2 separate regions of the Homo sapiens genome follow, and region 2 is linked to region 1. Evidence: promoter capture Hi-C in human tissues and cell types (Jung and others, 2019). All regions are on one chromosome and are shown on one strand. The core of a region is centred on a gene start or on the middle of the fragment in contact, and the rest is flanking DNA. Distances in the headings are between cores, read along the strand shown.

Region 1 (3,492 bases), core at 459-2,958:
CCTAAATCCCTCACTAACCTACCCCTGCCCTCACTAAACTTAATAATAAATGCTGGTATATCCAGTGTATTAGCAGCATTGCAGGACCAGAAGGCAGTGACCCCCCTGGACCCAGCTTTCAATATCTTCTGTGTGTCTATTATTTCTCGACCTGCCAATCCGCCTGGGAACAAAGAAAGAGCCCCATTGCATTGTGGGCTGCTGGCCAGATCCTGCAATACCACACTTGTTTTATTCTCCAGTCAAACGTTGCCTTTCTGAGAAAGGCTGTGAATTGAGAAAGGCTGTGAATTCCAAAAGGCTGGACATTTAACCTCCAACCAACCGATTCTTCTAATTAACCAATTAGCCATCATGAATCTCTCTCTCTCTTTTTTTTTTTTTTGAGACAGAGTCTCACTCTTGTCGCCAGGCTGGAGTGCAGTGGCACGATCTCGGCTCACTGCAACCTCTGCCTACGGGTTCAAGCAATTCTCCTGCCTCAGCCGCCCAAGTAGCTGGGACTACAGGTGCATGCCACCACACCTGGCTAATTTTTTTTTTTGTATTTTAGTACAGACGGGGTTTCACCATGTTGCCCAGATTGGTCTCGAACTCCTGAGCTCAGGCAATCTGCCCCCTTCGGCCTTCCAAAGTGCTAGGATTACAGGCGTGATCCACCATGCCCAGGCACCATCATGAATCTTTCAGTCCACAAATATATTTGAACTCCTTTCGAATCTATTCTTTTTCTTTTCTTTTTCTTTTTTTTTTTTTGAGACGGAGTCTTGCTCTGTCGCCCAGGCTGGAGTGCAGTGGCACAATCTTGGTTCACTGCAACCTCGGCCTCCCAGGTTCAAGCGATTCTCCTGCCTCAGTCTCCTGAGTAGCTGGGATTACAGGTGCATGCCACCACTCCCGGCTAATTTTTTTTTTTTTTTTTTTTTTTTTTTTTTTTAGTAGCGATGGGGTTTCACCATGTTGACCAGGATGGTCTCCATCTCCTGACCTTGTGATCCACCTGCTTCGGCCTCCCAGAGTGCTGGGAATACAGGCGTGAGCCACCGCGCCCGGCCCGAATCTATTCTTATTTTCAGCCCTTAGTTTTTATAGACAAACAGAAGGTGACGGTGTATCAGATTGTCAGATCACAAAGATCTGATAAGGCAAAGTGATCAAATTCATTGATCGTAGGTGGCCACCTGGCGATAAGGACTGCAGGGCCTAAGAAAGTACAAAAGATGACCTTTAGTAGGAGCTCCCAACCCAGAACCACAGGAAATCAAAAAAAGCCCGCACGGGCGGATCACGAGGTCAGGAAATCGAGAACATCCTGGCTAATACGGTGAAACCCAGTCTCTACTAAAAATACAAAAAATTAGCCGGGCGTAGTGGCGGGCGCCTGTAGCCCCAGCTACTCGGAGGCTAAGGCAGGAGAATGGCGCGAACCCGGGAGGGGGAGCTTGCAGTGAGCCGAAATCGCGCCACTGCATTCCAGCCTGGGCAACAGAGCGAGACTCTGTCTCAAAATAAATAAATAAATAAATAAATAAATAAATAAATAAATAAATAAATAAATAAATAAATAAAAATAAAAAATAATAATAATAAAAAAAGCCCGCACGAACTAGGAAAGAAAATACACAACCGGCCCTCCGTGCGATCACCCATCTCCCTCACCAGGAAAGTAGCTCCAAACCGCCAATCAGCGGCGACGCTGGACGTAGACGTCCTACCCCGTGATATTAAAGCAAGATGGCCGCGCCCTGCAGATTGTCTCTTGTTGCGTAAGTTTTTTTGACCGTCACTCGTGTCAGCTTCAAAGTCAGATAGATTTTTCTCCCAGCATGTTCTACTTCCGAGGCTGTGGCCGTTGGGTCGCGGTTTCCTTCACCAAGCAGCAATTTCCGTTGGCACGGTTGAGCAGTGACAGCGCGGCGCCCCGGACTCCGCACTTCGACGTGATAGTCATTGGTGGAGGACATGCCGGGACTGAGGCAGCCACCGCCGCCGCTCGGTGCGGCTCTCGGACTCTGCTCCTCACTCACCGCGTGGACACGATCGGTGAGGAGCGCGGGTGCTGTGGAACTTGGCGTAGGACGCAGGCTGCTTCCTTCCCGCCTCCCCCGGTCTGAAGCGGGGGACCTCTTCCTTTCCTCAAAGCTAGTGAGAATCCTACCTTCTGTGGTTTTAGCCTCGATCAGTGTCTCGCAAGGATCAGGCGGGCCAGGCCAGAACTCTATATTAGTCTATTCTGCGAACCATAGATTATGCTGCTGCTGACAGTCGTCCGTTGTAGGAGGTTGGGGTTCGGGGTCAGTGCCTTGGGAAAGGGAGCTACCAACTACTCGCTGGTAGCTTCTTAGTTCATTGCTGCGTTTACCTTCTACTATGTTACTCCAGATAAAGGGTGAATTAACATTATTAACAATGGTTTATGGCCAGGTGCAGTGGCTCACTTCTTTAATCCCAGCACTTTGGGATGCCAAGGCAGGTGGATCACCTGAGGTCAGGAGTTTGAGACCAGCTTGGCCAACACGGCGAAACCCCGTCTCTACTAAAAATACAAAAATTAGCCGGGCATGGTGGCGGGCGCCTATAATCCCAGCTACTCGGGAGTCTGAGGCAGGAGAATCGCTTGAACCCGGGGGCAGAGGTTGCAGTGAGCCGAGATTGCGCCACTTCACTCCAGCCTGGGCAAAAGAGCAAAACTCCGTCTCAAAATAATGATAATATTAATAAAATAAAAAAATCCTTTATTAAACGGTTCTTGTGTTTTTATTTAAAAACATTTTTTTAGAGACAGGGTCTCGCCATGTTGCCCAGGCTGGAGTGCAGTGACTACTCATAGGCACGATCGTTGCACATTACAGGCTCCGCTTTCTGGACTCAAGAACTTTTCCTGCCTCTGCCTAACCAGTAGCTGGGATTGCAGGTGCTCAGTACTCTGCCCAGCCTGATCTTTGTGTTTCTGTCAAGATTTTGTGATGCCTTTTGGAAGAACCATGCTACCTTTTTTTTTTTTTTTTCTTTTGAGACAGAGTCTTGCACTGTCACACAGGCTCAAGTGCAGTGGCGCCATCTCGGCTCACTGCAAGCTCCGCCTTCCGGGTTAATGCCATTCTCCTGCCTCAGCCTCCCGAGTAGCTGGGATTACAGGCACCCACCACCACGCCCGGCTAATTTTTTTTTTCTTTGTATTTTTAGTAGAGTCGGGGTTTCACCATGTTAGCCAGGATGGTCTCGATCTCCTGACCTTGTGATCCGCCCGCCTCGGCCTCCCAAAATGCTGGGATTACAGGCATGAGCCACCGTGCCCAGCGCCATGCTACCTTTTGCATCCTATATTCCTTCTGGGTTGTCGTCCCTGGATTTTGTGTTTAGTACTGGACAGTACTTTTTTTGCTCTAATGGGTAATGGTTGGATGGCCGTTCTGTAGCATCATGATAGATACTAGCTAAAACATCAACTTGTAAATTATGTATACTTTTGTCTTTCCTCCTTCCTTTTGC
Region 2 (3,492 bases), core at 346-2,845, 780 kb before region 1:
GGATTTTCCAGTGATTTATGAGATGGGAGCATTGGCTTAGAAAAATTGATCCATTTTAGAATTGAGGGAGTAAATCACTGAACATTTTAACCTAGTTTACTAGACAGTCTCTTTCTTTTGTTTTTAAATATATCCATTCTGAATCTTATATTGATTTTGAAACTGGTTATTGCTCCTATGTAACTGTTTAAGTAAATTCAGAGCACTGTATCTTTGGAGATACAATTATTATAGGATTTAATTTCATTAACTCTTGCAAAGACCTTTGGACTTTTGAGGTTACAAAAGCAGTGTTTTTGGATAATGGGAGGTAACTAACCTGACTTGATCTACTGCACATCCTATTTCGTACTTCATGAAAAAGACTGGGTATTCTCTACTCTTATCTTGAACACAAAGACACATCAGCATGCACATCAGCATGTGAGCTAGGAATGGGAGAAGTGTGTGGGAATGTAATGTATCTGAAAGAATGGAAAATTTTGTCTTTCTCTCCCTTTTTCTTGGATTATTTAAATTTTTTATGTCACAAAGCAGCAGAATAAAATTTCCATCATAAAGTATTTTACTCTATTATAACCTCAATTTTACTGAGTCAGAATATGCTCAGGGCTGACACAGGAGGGAGAAGATGTTTCCGTTGTATGGTAAGTCTGAGAAGAAGCAGATTGGTGTCTCTGTTCCCAGTTTTTGAAGTGAATTTCTGGAGTAAGCATCCTAAATTGAGAAAGAACATAAATATTTCTGTATGGAAATGTTAGAAAACAAGATTCTGGTAATTAGTATGAAATTTTACTATTCATCCCTTTAGATTGTCGTGGTTGCATTAATTGACCAACATTGCTTTTTAAAAATGCTGTCACTTCTCCTTGTTTATATCTATTTTTGCTTTTTTCCATACATTTGACATTTTCTTTAAAATCTGGGCATATAAAATGCTGATTAAAAATATTTTTATGTGGAGTTGAAATCAATGTGTCAAGATTCTTCATTGTATTTTCCTTCAAAAAAGGCTGCTGTAACATAGGACCAAATGTTAAGGGTGCTTGCTGGCATAACTCCAAAGCAGTGTTTTTGGATAACAGGAGTCTTTAATTCTTAGGTATAATTGATATTTTTAGTTAGTACTTTTTTCAGCTTTGTTTTTGGTTTGATTTGGGGTATATGTATGTATGTATGTTTCTATAACAAGTTTTGAATTTTTTTGAAGACTTATCTTCTTAGGCCACCAAAGCAAATTAGTTCAGTAATTATAGTCTCAGTTTACCTTGTTTCCCTCTCAGTGGGTCAACCAAAACCGCATGGCGTACTACTCTCTGAAGCCTCTACTACCCTGCTCCTCCGTGTTGACATGTGGTCAGGCAAGCCAGGACTTACTCACATCAGCTACATCAGTTACTGGGGTAAGAAACTCTGGGCTTTTCAGATACTGTCCTCCAGAAACACCAGCACCAGCCTTTGGGTTTAAGATCACCTGGTGAGATTGATTATCTTTAGGGAATGGTGCAGATGGGATAGTTTCTAGACAATTTGGGAACCTCAGAAATGGGAGTACTTATATTAGAATGACATAAAATAACTTTTTGCCCCAGGGATCTTGCAGTAAAGATTATCATCACAGTTGGCCATACCATGAACTTTTCTAAGTTATTTAAATTTACCTTGAAATGTTATCAGTGTCTGCTGTCACAGAGAATAAATGTATCTGGTATTAACATTTTACTCATGCTTGCCTTGCCTTTACTAAATCTTATCTTGTAATTGAAGAACTTGACTATTTTTAATTCTGAATACAATATGCCTCAGAATAAGGTTTTAAGCTTTAGGTAAGGTAAAGTTTAACTTTAGTTTGTATCTGTGACACCTAACACAATACTAAGGAATTCAACTGAATGAGAAATTTATTCTAGGCATCCACCATGTTCAAAACATACTAAGTACCTAGGAATTACTTATAGAATAGATGTAACTCTATTGAACTATAAATCAAATATCAACATACAAAGTTGAGTGAGCAGACTTGTTTGCCTCTTTTCATTTTTTGTTACACTGATGGATACCACATGTCTTAGGTGATTGGGGGTGCGGTGGCTAGTAATTACTGCCATTATTGTCTGTGATACAGCAGTGTTCAGATAGCAGCTATTCTGCTTATAATCAGATGAACAAGATATTATGTTTGGCTTTGTTTATGGAAAAAAAGAAATTTTATTAAATTGTGGTTAGAGGCCTGTTAGCATAAAGGATGAATGGTTTCTTGGAATTACAACTTGAATATTTTGAGAGAAACAAATGAAAAGTATCTCACTGTAGGGCTGAATTGGTTTGTGACCTTGCTTCTCTAGCTGAAATCTATTGACTCTCTCAGAAGTATTGCTAGGAGAAGAAATAATCCTATAAAAGGACATTAAGCAATGCTAAGAAAAAGATGATGATAATAATAATGCTTTCAGCTCACCATGTGCCAAACATCATATTAAACACTTTAAGTGCATTATTACATTGAATTCTCACAACCCTACACCATATCCTCATTTTACAGATGGAGAAAATTGAAGCCTAGAAAGATCAAGAAACTTTCTCCAGGCCATAAATAGAGGAATCAGGATTCAAATCAGATAGACCCCAGGGCTTGTTCTCTTCAACACCACATTACCCTACATTATTATTCAATTATTAAATAAAACCTTGCATTAGTGGCATTTCCAAATGCATAACAAAAAAATAAAAAAAAGTAACACTGGTCATATGTATCGTATTTTTTATAAAAATTACATTATTCCATTTGTTTTTCTGGAAATTTTTATTGCATTGAGTTGCTAGAATACCATAATATAAAACTTGGCATTTTCTCAATAAATGTGTATGATGCTGTAGTAGGTGTTTAAGATGTCTTTGGAACAACATTTAATTTGTAAGATCTTTTTTATTAATGTGCTGAATTAAGTAATTATTTCTTTCCCACTTTGGGTATGTTCCATATTTGATTTTCTGCTGCTTTCAAGAAGCCATACAATAGAATTCTTAATCCCGTTTTGACTCAACTTCTTTCCAAAAACTAAAATAAAAATAAAAGACATGAAGCACTTCTTTTATCTTATTAGAAAAGCCAATAAAATGAAAGAATCTTCAAAGCAATTTTTTCAAAATATAAAATTGGCAGAGTATTTTGTTTATGAAACTATGGAAACCAAGTTGAGATTTATAAACAAGGACTTCAAAACTTGTTTTGCTAATGCAGTGTCACTCAAGAATTCACTGAACCTCACAAGGTAAACTTGCAGAGAATGTTTGTTTTGGGAAATGATGATGATGACAGGCAAGAATTTTCTAGGTAGAAAATTGAATTTTAATTCAGCTACCATACAATTCACTCTTTTAAAGTATGAAAGTCAGCCATCCCATTACAGGGTATATACCCAAAGGACTATAAATCATGCTGCTATAAAGACACATGCACACGTATGTTTATTGCGACACTATTCACAATAG

What was found. The method cuts DNA at HindIII sites, captures the fragments that hold promoters and counts their contacts. A contact is called where the count stands out against the background at its distance.
Region 2: a contact is called between a fragment that was not itself captured here and the fragment with the promoter of MTO1 in region 1, in 1 of the 25 tissues and cell types used here (lymphoblastoid cells).

Annotation. Positions count from the first base shown.
Region 1 is chr6:73,460,029-73,463,520 of GRCh38, forward strand. MTO1 (mitochondrial tRNA translation optimization 1) reads left to right here and starts at 1,709. Exons shown (of 12, transcript NM_012123.4): 1 at 1,709-2,043. The coding sequence starts at 1,827. RefSeq lists a silencer at 1,210-1,269 and enhancers at 1,702-2,547, 1,720-2,049, 2,120-2,179, 2,200-2,249. The HindIII fragment of the contact is 26,494 bases long and covers 1-3,492 here.
Region 2 is chr6:72,675,812-72,679,303 of GRCh38, forward strand. The region is part of intron 1 of KCNQ5 (potassium voltage-gated channel subfamily Q member 5); the gene reads left to right. It overlaps KCNQ5-IT1 (KCNQ5 intronic transcript 1), which reads left to right. Exons shown (of 4, transcript NR_120503.1): 3 at 1,284-1,403; 4 at 2,543-2,747. Among named protein-coding and RNA genes, the nearest start is that of KCNQ5-IT1, 47 kb to the left of the region's middle. The HindIII fragment of the contact is 4,524 bases long and covers 1-3,492 here.